3 separate regions of the Homo sapiens genome follow, and regions 1 and 2 are each linked to region 3. The links are contacts of gene promoters, found by promoter capture Hi-C in blood cells and fetal thymus (Javierre and others, 2016). All regions are on one chromosome and are shown on one strand. The core of a region is centred on a gene start or on the middle of the fragment in contact, and the rest is flanking DNA. Distances in the headings are between cores, read along the strand shown. Region 1 overlaps MAPK10 (mitogen-activated protein kinase 10). Region 2 overlaps ARHGAP24 (Rho GTPase activating protein 24). Region 3 holds the start of ARHGAP24 (Rho GTPase activating protein 24).

Region 1 (3,930 bases), core at 1,431-3,930, 570 kb before region 3:
TGACATGTGGCTTTAATAGACTAACTCAGCAATATCTGTGTTCGATGTGTTTTTCACCTAGAGCTATTTTCTAGTTCATTTTTAGCTCATATTTGTCCTACAGAATATCCTTGGGGCTAATGTGATCTTTTACCTATGAAAAGAAAGGCTTGCAACAAAAGCTACTGCTTCTCAGAATTTTAAGTTAACTCATTTTCTTTAGAACCTTCCATATGCCATTATCATATTGTGCATTATGCTGCAGTGATTCATTTTTATGTCTATCTTCCACAACTCTACTGCTGTAAAGTTCCTTGGGAGCAGAAATTCAGTTTTATCTACCGAGTGCAGAGAAAACAGTGAGAGTAATGGCAGGTGCATAGTGTATGGTCAGTAAATGCCCTTTGAATTGAACTCAGCTGTACTCTGCTGAGCACTTCTCTAGTGTTTATAAAACCCTTTCTGATATCCAATCTTATTTAAGCCTCATAAAAACTCTAGAAAATGATGACTATCCTCAACAACTCTTAACTGAACTTACTTTCTAAATATACCTTGACTCAGATCACTTCTCATCCTTTCATCTATGCAAACATCATTTCTACCCTGGACCATGTAATATTCTGGGACTTATCTCTCAGCACCACTCTTGTCCCTTGTGGTCCATTCTGCAGAATGCCTAGAATTTTCCTTTTAAAATGTAAAACACGTTACATTCACATAATTCCTCAGCTAACACCTTCCCATCTTCCAATGGCTTCTTATCATATTTATAACAAAACTCAAAGTACTTATCATGGCTTGCAAGGCCCTACCACAGTGTTGTTTCAAATTTTATCATAACCCATAGTAAGAAGGGTGTTTTACATTGCAACCCAGCATGCGTGTACAAGTGCACGTGCGTGCACACACACACGTACACACACACAAAAGAAAAACCATACACTGATATTTTCTATCTCATTTTACTCTTCTTAGTTACACTAAAAGGTGCTAGTGATGACACCAATTTGTTTTCATGACTGCAGTTTGGAAAACATGGCTCTACTTAGTCTGGCTCCTGCCTACTTTTCTGATATCACCTTTAGGCTTCCCTTTTCCACTCTGCACCAGTATATGGCATCCTTGCGGTTTCCTTACCACACCAAGCAAGCTCCCCCTTTAGGGTCTTTGCATTGTATTTCCTTCTGCCTGGGACATTCTTCCTCCAGATATTCACATTGCTCCCTCCTTTACTTCATTCAAATCTCTGCTCAAATGTTACCTTCTCAAAGAAGCCTTTTATGACCATCCTTTCTAAAATAGTACTCTTCGGCCGCCCCCTTGCCCGTCATGTAACACACATTCGTGTGTAACCTGGCACTAAAACATAAGTAGATGACCTGCTTCTGGGTCAGGGTTTCATATGTAGCAGAGGGGATCCTTGCTGTGATCTATTGAAAGTCAGCCCTTGGTACAAGTGTTTGTAAAAATAATACTAATAATAGTTTAAAAAGTAAAACAAAAACAAAAAGAAAAAAACTAAAAAGAAAAAATAGAATAGTACTCTGTTACACTCTAGCCTCTTAATCTTTTTTCTCTATGTGTCACTGTTTGACATTATATATCTCTTTTTATTATCTGTCTCATCAACTAGAATTTAAGATGCGTAAAAAGAGAGACAGTGACTCTTTGGGGCACTGCTGTATCCCAACTACCTAGAACACTGTCTGGCCCTTAGTAGTCATATAATCAATATTTGCTGAATGAATGTATCTGTGTTTAGAATTGAAGACACTAAAGCTCAGGATGTTAATGGATGTTAAGCACATTGCCCATGATTGTGTGGCTAATATGTGTATATCAAAAGCTGGAATCTACTTTTTAAAAATTATTTGAGTAATGTCAGACATGTCATAATTTATTTCATCTCTTTACCTGACCAATTTTTCCGAGTTAATATATCGTAGATTTTTGAATGCAAATAATTGTTCTTCATCAATGGTTCATACTTGTTGGATATCTACTATGTACTATATACTGTGCTTCCATTTCTTCTAGATTTTCAATTGTATATCTAGAAAACCCCATTGTCTCAGCCCAAAATCTCAAAATAATAACAGCTATTTATGACAAACCCATAGCAAATATCATACTGAATGGGCAGAAGCTGGAAACATTCCCTTTGAAAACCAGCACAAGACAAGGATGCCCTCTCTCACCACTCCTATTCAACATAGTATTGGAAGTTCTGGCCAGGGCAGTCAGGCAAGAGAAAGAAATAAAGCGTATTCAAATAGGAAGACAGGAAGTCAAATTGTCCCTGTTTGCAGATGACATGATTGCATATTTAGAAAACCCCATCATCTCAGTCCAAAATCTCCTTAAGCTGATAAGCAACTTCAGCAAAGTCTCAGGATACAAAATCAATGTACAAAAATCACAAGCATTCTTATACACGAATAACAGACAAATAGAGAGCAGTGGTTTGTAGTTCTCCTTGAAGAGGTCCTTCACATCCCTTGTAAGTTGGATTCCTAGGTCTTTTATTCTCAATTCTTTGTCCCATGGTCTAGTGAGAAGATAAATAAGTAAATGTTGATGATACGTATTCCAAATTTTAAGCTTATTGTACATTGGAAACACATAAAAATAACCCAGTAATGTGGGTTACAGAAGGCTGCTTGGAGTGATTAATTTTCAAACAGGAACATGAAGGGCTAAAAAAGAAATTATCCAAGTGAAGAAAGGCAAGCAGAAGAAAGGGTATATGCAAAAATCCCAGGGTCAAGAGAGGGTGGAGAGAATTGCAAAGCTTTAAGCTTTCTGAGTGACTTAATGGAGAAGGGTGAGAAATTATTTTGGGCTGGTAAGCAGGGACCAGATAAGGAAGGAGTTCCCAAGCATTGTCATGTACCATGCATGCTATCCTAGGGTGAAGGGAAGCCATTCACTAGGAAGTGGGGCAATAGCATTAGCAGATTTGAAGTTTCAAAGGGCCACTGTCTGCAGTGTGGGACTGGAGTTGAGAAAAGGGAGCTAGAAGGCAGGAGGATAGATCTGTAGTAATCTAAATCACTGTAGACATGGGCAGAATATTCAAGAGATGTTTAGAAGCTAATAATTGACATGAATTGTAAATAATTAAATTTGGAATTTAAGGGAGGTGGAATTCAAAGATGAGTAATATCATATGGTAGAGGGTTAATAAATATGTGTTAAATGAACGAATGAAGAAAGAAAGATTCCTGACCAAGGCACTGGGTGATTGGTGGTGCAATTACTGAAACTTTTCAGTTAAAGAACCATAGAAAATTTTAATTTCCAAGGAGCAGGAAAGAGAAATTTCATTTTCAAGACATGATTACACTTTTTGATGGTGTAGAGCTAATAAATAAATCTGAGAAAACTACAGAACAGAATGAAAAATAGAGAAAACTGAATTCAACTTCTTTGCCAAACCACTGGAGCATTATGTAATTAAGCTTTCTAATTACACTCAGTTCAGATCATAATTAAAATTTGCATTACTAGCTTTCAAAGGTTCCTCTGGTCACCTAATGCTATGATGTCTCTAAGCAACATTAGTGCTTTCCATTTATAACACATTATAATTCCATGCTTTTCGCATTGCAAGTACTTAAGAAAGTTTTGTTGAATTACCTGGTATGATATTTGTTGAACATTTGGAACTAGTTTCTCTTGAATAAAGCAGTAGATGAAAATCTTTCATTGCAAACTGAGTGACTTGCTCAAGGTCACTCATCTTACTAGTGCCAGAGTCAATGGTGCTTCAGTGCTCTTTCCATTGTTCCTTTCAGAAAACCTGTGACGCATTATGAGGCTCAGAGATTCTCCCTGCTCACTTTAGTCTACGGACTGCATTTGATTATGAGACACAAATCTTGTGTCCACTTTGATTACAATTCACAAATTTCTTTGTCCTGTTCTTTAAAATCATAGTATATGATA
Region 2 (3,768 bases), core at 579-3,078, 520 kb before region 3:
TTAAACATATGACCACATTTTTACATGAAAAGTTGGTACTATGCTGGTTTCCACTCAGAATTATTCTACAATATATTCTCTTTGTTTTCCAAAGCTATTTTAGAGCCAAAATTTTGGAAGAAATTGAAATTAAAATACTGAGAAGGACAACCCTTACAAAACAATATATTGACACATTTGTATGTATCAGGTGCTTGTGGGAAACTTCCAGGAATGAAAAGGACTAAGTTGAATACAGAAGAAATCCCTCCCAATGCAAACATATAAAAGTGCTGGAAAAGTTTTAAGAAATATATTTTTAAAATACATCATCAAGGTTAAAATAAAACAGCAGCTTCAGCCATCAGAACCAAGGAAGAAACCGAAATATAGAACAATAAGTAGAAGCACACGAAGGATATTAGTCTTGGATAGAGGCCACAGAGCTTGGGTCTAGGTTTTTCTTTTTCACATGGGGACAGAAGGTGAGGCCTCCAGTATTAGGCAGGCAGAAAACTACAAGTAATTTAACTGAGAGCTTGGAACATTAACTGTTTTTATGAAGAAGAGACTACAAAATCTCCAATCATGGGCCTGGGGAAGTATCAGAATTGAATTAGCTCATCAGAGTATTAGTAAGCTACAAAACAGGTCTGAGAAAAGTTACCTAGAATGCCTCAAAAATGATAATTATAGAAATTTAATATGGAAAAAAGAAGTTAACAAAGACAGAGGATAGATTAACAAGGTCAAACATAGCTTAATAAGGGTTCTGGAAAGAGAAAATTGAGAAGGTGGGAAGATGAAATAGACAAAAAGATGATGAAAAAAATATTCCAGAATTGTAAAGATGTAAGTTGTTAGATCAAATCATCAAACAAAGTTTGAAAGTTAAATAAAGGAAAAGACATATCAGGAAGTTACTAATCAAAGGAAGATGGTAGGACAATATTAATATCAGAAAAAATAGAGTTTCAGGTAAAAAGCATTATTACAATGAAAAATAGGCACTAATTAATGATAAAAGGATCAATTCTTCAGGGAGATATGAACAACTCCAAACTTCTATTCACCTAGTAGTAGAGCCTCAAATTGTTCAATATAAAATATGACAAAATTATAAAAAGAAACTGATAAACTCAGAATACTGATAGGAAATTTTAAAGTATCTTTCTCAAAAATTATTGATATAGCTGATAAAAATGAGAAGAAATACAGAAGCTTTGAATAGCCTGATTAACAGACTTGATCTCTTGGTCATATATAGAATCCCAATCCAGTAATAAGGGAATAGTTTTAATAGACCAAATAATTAATATCATCCAGATGAACTTCTCTGACCACAATACAATATTTCCTAAGAAAATTGTTAGAAACTAGCTGAGTGCCATGGCTTATGCCTGTAACCCCAGCACTTTGGGAGGCCGAGGTGGGTGGATCATTTGAGGTCAAGAGCTCAAGAGCTGCCTGGCCAACATGGTAAAACCCCTGTCTCCACAAGAAAAAAAAAAATTATCCAGTCATGATGGCATGCATCTGTAATCCAAGCTACTCAGGAGGCTGAGGCAGGAGAATCGCTTCAACTTGGGAGGCAGAGGTTGCAGTGAGCCAAGATTGCATCACTGCACTCTCCAGCGTGGGCAACAGAGTGAGACTCTGTCAAAAAATAAAACATAAAAAAAAATAAGAAAAGAAAAAGTTAGAAACCAATTTGGAGAGGGAAAAAGAATATATGTTTCAAAACTAAAAACCATATATCTCACTGACTGATAATTAAAGTAAAATATTATCTATCTGTCTACCTACCTCCCTACCTATTTACCTACCTACCTATCCATCCATCCACCCTCAATACTTGTGGGGTAAAGTTATAAATGATTTAAACATATATCTTATTGATAATTAAACAAAGTAAAATATTATCTATCTATCTATCTATCTATCTATCTATCTATCTATCTATATCTATCATCTATCTATTATCTATCTCTCTATCTATCTATCTATCATCTATCTATCTATCTATCATCTACCTACCTACCTACCTACCTATTTACCTACCTACCTATCTATCCATCCATCTACCTTCAATGCTTGTGGGGTAAAGTTATAAAGGAATTTAAAGAAAAATGAATAACTCTAAACAGAAATGATCAAAATTTAGCCAGAACAGTTAACTTTCTATAATTTCATGGCTAGGCCACGAGCGGTCCCCCACCCTCCACCCTACTGCAGAGCTCTCCCTTGGCCTGTCATGAGGGTAAGAATGTGACACTGAAATGGCCCATTAAGATGACCTCTATTGGGAAGTTCTATCAGTTTATCAAAATCTCTGAAATATACCGTAGATCTCAGAACATATATGCATCAGCAACATCCTCAGAAATGAATGTATCCATCTGCAAATTCATAGTGATAACTTTTTTCTTTTTCTACTACATTTAAAGTGTGACCCCTTGCCTCAAAATATAAGCTTCCCAGTGTGAAATGCTAATTTATCATCATGGATTGGCAGTAATTCAGAATTCCAATACATAGTGGTTCCAAAAACTACATTCAGAAAGAAGAGTAACCTTTTAAGATAATGACCCTATATTTTTCTTTAAATCTCCTGTCACTCTCCATTATATAGAAAAATTCAAACCACAATTCCACTCAGTGAAACTTACCAAAAAAATACTTTCCAAGGAAGTAATTTTTCAATCTCATTTATAAGTAGTATTTTTTAATATTTATTTTGCCATAGCTTCTGAAAGTACGTTATCTTTTTGTCTGATAATTGATGAATGGATAGGAAACATATTAAGGTAAATTAAAGCCAACTTAACAACCAACTGAGGATCCTAGCACACCATGGAGGAAGGGTTGTCCAAATCACACAGCCTGAAACTGGGACTGAGAACACTAGAGGAGCTACTCCTACTTTGATCATTTTATGAGAAGATGCACATTGATATAATTAGGTTTTAGCATAATTGCTTCTTTATAAATCATATTCTTTTTTCCTCATTTAGGCTACAGTCTTCCTTATTCATGTGAACATACTTCACGTCACCCCTCTTCTCAAAAACCTCCATGGATTTCTATCTCAGAGTAAAAGTCAAAGGCTGAAAATCAGCCTGTCAATCCCCTATGTCACCTGGCTCTTATGGCCTCTCTCAGCTCATCTGAATCCTCAGCGTCTGGAACAGAGCCTGGCAGATAGAAGGCACTCTCTCAACATTCAATGATTGAAAGAATAAAACATGGAGGTCTATTTACTTCTACTTTTTTTACCCTAGTTTCATCCTTTTCTTGTTAGTGAAAACTAACAGGCTCCTAATGCTCTGTCCATCTCCTCACAGCCCCTCTCCTTCCAGCCCTCTAATGCAAATCTATCTATTTAATAATAATCAAAGATGACATTATTGAGCCTATTCTGTACCAGGGAAATGTTCAATCACTTCTTATGTGCTTTTGAGGTAGATACTACTAGTATTTAAATTGTTTACATTAGGGAATCAAAGCTCACAGAGATGAAGCTAACTTGCACACAGTCACAAAGCTCATAAATGATGGAGCAAACTTGTGTTTCTTTGACTTTGGAGCCAGCATATGTCACCCTCAGTGTGATCCTGTCCCACAGTAGGAGGCTACTGAGCCCTCTCTGGTAGTTACGACCTCCAGATTTTCCTTACCTCTTTATCCTGGACTCATACTCTATCTTCTGTTTGGTCATTTCCTGTTTCAGGCTGGAAACTAAACTGTGCAGTGCACTGTGGTTGCTGCTGCTGTTGCCCACAAATGTCT
Region 3 (4,041 bases), core at 571-3,070:
ACAGATTTCTGGACTTGCTACCTGAAGGCCAGGCAGTCAGGGAAGATAAAATGGTAACTTTTATTACTGAGCTCTCTTACAAGTTGAAATATGCCCAGAAAAGAGGAAGAATTAAGAAATTTAAAAGGGGGAGTGAGATCTTCACAAGTCTGATGTGACTTTATGGCTGTTTTCTGGCTTTTTCTAATACATACATTCTGTGTGTTTTATTTTACAATGCCCAGTTCAATAGCGTCATCCATTTTTGCCCTGAAGGATTGGTTTTGAGTTCTAATTGGAACTGGGGACAGATTGTTTGTATTTAATCCGTCTGTACATCTTCTACTCAGTAACTGAGTAAAGCTCTTAAACTCTACTGCAAATATCCCTGGATTCCAATGAATTTGTCTTACTTAGTAGACATAGCAACACATATTGTTTTATTTATGTATTTATGTATAAGCAAAGCCTTAACAACTTTTATATTCCAAATACTCAGCACGATTTATTTATTTCCTTTTTAGAAAGAGATGAAACAATGATGCCGTGGAAGGTTAAAAAAAGAGTAACATAAAATGTGCTGGAAACAGAAATTACTTGGAGAAATTACTTGTTTAATTCAAATGAATTAAACGAGATATAGTCTACAAAGAAGTCTGGGCTCCCTATTACTGGTTGATGCTGAAAATCTATCTAAGGAATTCAGAGTAACATTGTCTCCCTTCTATTTGGGTACGTATAAAATAAATGTAGTCTTAAGTATTTTCTAAAAACGAGACCATATTACATGTTTATCATTAAATGTTATTTTTAAAAACATTTGGACAAAATCTTTTGAGTGGCTTCAAATTCACCAAAGATTCCCTAACGTTTTGTGTTTACAAATATATGTATATATTTTATAATATATATTTCTAATATGTAATATATTTATAAATATTTTAAAACATATTTTATACATATAAAATATATATTTTTGCAAATATATATGCTTATTATTAAAACCTATCTTTGTGCGCCTGTTACATAGGGAACTCCTATAAGATACTAGAGGAAACAAACAAGGGGAAGGGGAGGATGGATACCAAGAGAGGAAATTGAATTGTACAAAGGGTTTTTATTAATTCCATCTATTTTTAAAGCCAGAAAGACATACTACCAGCTTGCTGTCTCCCGGCACAAACATGCGCGCGCGCGCACACACACACACAAACACAGACAGGCTACATCAGCACGGGATTCCTGCGATCCCTCCCCGCCCCCCGCAGCCCCCTCCCCGCCCCCCGCAGCCCCCTCCCCGCCCCCCGCAGCCCCCTCCCCGCCCCCCGCAGCCCCCTCCCCGCCCCCCGCAGCCCCCTCCCCTGGCGCAGGCAGCCGCGTCCGTCCTTCCCGCGGTAGCTCCGCGCACTTCCTCGCGACCGCATCACCTACCTTGCTGGGAGCTCAAGACAGATGCCGGACAGGGCTGCTGCTCCGAAGGAAAAGGCTCCCAGGACCAGCAGTAAGAAAACGCAAAGAAAAAAAGGTGGTAGTGAGGCTCCTTTACTTTCCACAACAAGGGGAAGTGTTGAACTCTATGCACTGGGCTGCTCCGCAGCGCGGGTTTCGGAGGAAATAGGCGGCCGAGAGAGCTGCGCCTGCGATGGGAAGTTGGGGGGATTCCCCCAGCCACCCAGCCACCCCCGCCAGGCTCCTCTCTGGTCCCCGCCGCAGCCTTGACAGCTCCCCTGGTCTCCGAGCCCCTCCAGAGCCCTGCTGGTTTCCACCCGGAGCTGGGCTGTGTTGCCACATGCACTTGAGAAATCCTAGCAGTTGCGCAAAGAGTCCCAGAAGTTAGAAAGGGTGATTGTGTGTGAATGTGTAAATATACAGTACAAGAGGCTGGAACAACTGAGTGGGGCCAACCCTCAGACACAGCTCGAGGTTTCAGATTTCATTTGGCAACTGGTAGCTTCACAGGACTCGAGCCGCACTACAGGGGAGGCCGGCAGGAGCCCCGCCCTCCCAAAGCCTGGGTTATCTGAGAGCTGGAGCTACACCGCCTGGCGCCACTGACAGAATGCGCCCTGCCTGGTTCCTCCGCATCTGGCATCGCTCGTTCCTTTCAAGTGCATCATAGATACTTGTTGGCCACAGATCTGGGGCTGTGGGCGCGAGAAGGTTGGTGAATACATGTCTCCTGCCCTCAAGGAGCTCTGCATTTCATTGGCCAAACCCCATACACCGGTTTTACTTGCTTCTACCAACTCTGTCTCGCTAACATTTTATTTCTCCAATTAGAATTACCTGGGCCATTAAAGCAATATTCCTGGAAATGCACATTTAGATGGATGCTCTCTAACTAGAGCCTTAGAGAAATTCAAAGTATAATTACTTTCTTACGGTGGTGTAAGAACTCTCGGAGTTACACAATATGGGACAAAAGGACAAACTAGTAAACATTGTTTTGATGCAGGCCGTCTCTTCCCACCATCACCACAATGTCTGTTTCAAATTGTGATCTTACAGTTCTGGTTACCTGGCATGCTGAGTCAAATTATTTCAAAAAGCTTTGTAAAGATCTCTGTTTTAGAAACCCACTTACAGTGGATCAGTCATGCAATCCTAGCACTTTGGAAGGCTGAGGCAGGAGGATCGCTTGAGCCCAGGGGTTTCAGACCAAAATTGGCAACATAATGAGACTCCTGTCTCTATAAAAAAAAAATTAAAAAAATAAAAAAAAAGTTGGGCGTGGCGGCGTATGTCTGTAGTCCCAGCTACTCAGGAGGCTGAAGCGGGAAAATCCCTTGAGCCCAGGAGGTCAAGGCTGCAGTGAGCTATAATTGTGCCAGCGCACTCCAGCCTAGGTGACGGAGTGACACCCCCGTCTCGAACAATTACTACTGCTACTACTAATAAAAGAAACTCTCTTTTAGAAATCATCACCAGATATCCTTAAGACACAGAATGGGGGTGTCCTCACTAGGGATCTCCAGTGAGAGAGGGATATGGAAGAAGAGCAAATGTTTAGTTTTAGAAACACCAAAAATAAAAGGCTGAGTGGACACTGATATGTTTTTCCTTTTTGTCCTCTTTCTCCAAGTTCTTGGAGAAACGAATCTACCCCATCCCATGCTGAGGTCCTACTATAAACTTGATTTTCTGGTGGGAGAATTCTCAGCCCTTTAATGAATCAAATTAATTTGTGTGGGGAAAAAATTGCGTTTCATATTTCATTTTAAAAATATGTATGGAATTCCTAAGCTAGAAGTAATGTAGCTTATTTTCCAATTGGTGGGAATAAATTACCTTCATCAACCCACATGGCCTTACATGTTCTAGCAACACCCTAGCAGGTGAATGCTGATGGGCAGTTTCAGATGAAAGCTGGAAAATAACATTAACCCAAATGAAATTTGCACACATTTGATGGACTCAAAAGCCTCAGGAAGACAAGTACCAATAATTATGATTCAAGATGGGGACATTTAAAAAAACAAGGAAACTGTCATGTCAGTAATTTATTTCAGGGTCTAACAAATATTACCACAGCAGTTTAGTCTCAAAGTGATACAAAACTGAACTCAGGGTGGTTACTGGGTAGTCCCTAGTCCAAAAGATTAAGACACACCTCTAATACACACACAGGCTGTGTTCAAGGCCTTTTCCTTCCCATCTTCTGGTTCTGTCTCCACCCTTTCCAACTGATAGCACTTCATTGGTGTGTGTGATATATGTGATTATCTTAAGCTAGAAAGTACAACAGAAGGAGAGGATGGTTGTCACTTGGGGATTAGACAGTTGAGAGGATAGGAAAGGAGTTATATCCACCAATACAAGCCCCTTCTTCCCCTCCTACTTAGAAAGAGGTGGACCATTGCATTCCTTTTCTAGAAGCCCCTCAGCAAGGAGTCTGTTCCAAGAGAATATAACCTGAACTAGAAACTGCGTTGTTTTCTGGCCTCTGACTATACTGCTCCTCTCTTATTGTAGATTAGTTGGGACCAAGAGACATTCCTTATACGTATTGTGGCATCTTTAAAGGAGAGAATAAACTCTTGAACAAGACCCTTGAAACCTGAT

The links. Contacts are between HindIII fragments. The CHiCAGO score rates a contact against its expected background, and 5 or more counts as called.
Region 1: a contact is called between a fragment that was not itself captured here and the fragment with the promoter of ARHGAP24 in region 3, in 1 of 17 cell types (endothelial precursors). The highest score is 7.2, in endothelial precursors.
Region 2: a fragment that was not itself captured here is called in contact with the fragment with the promoter of ARHGAP24 in region 3 in 1 of 17 cell types (total B cells); the score reaches 7.5 in total B cells.

Annotation. Positions count from the first base shown.
Region 1 is chr4:86,044,605-86,048,534 of GRCh38, reverse strand. All of the region lies in intron 11 of MAPK10 (mitogen-activated protein kinase 10), which reads left to right. Among named protein-coding and RNA genes, the nearest start is that of MAPK10-AS1, 73 kb to the left of the region's middle. The HindIII fragment of the contact is 190 bases long and covers 2,586-2,775 here.
Region 2 is chr4:85,995,546-85,999,313 of GRCh38, reverse strand. ARHGAP24 (Rho GTPase activating protein 24) reads right to left here. Exons shown (of 10, transcript NM_001025616.3): 9 at 3,657-3,768. Among named protein-coding and RNA genes, the nearest start is that of MAPK10-AS1, 120 kb to the left of the region's middle. The HindIII fragment of the contact is 1,252 bases long and covers 1,203-2,454 here.
Region 3 is chr4:85,472,929-85,476,969 of GRCh38, reverse strand. It overlaps ARHGAP24 (Rho GTPase activating protein 24), which reads right to left and starts at 1,820. Exons shown (of 10, transcript NM_001025616.3): 1 at 1,411-1,820. The HindIII fragment of the contact is 5,990 bases long and covers 1-2,530 here.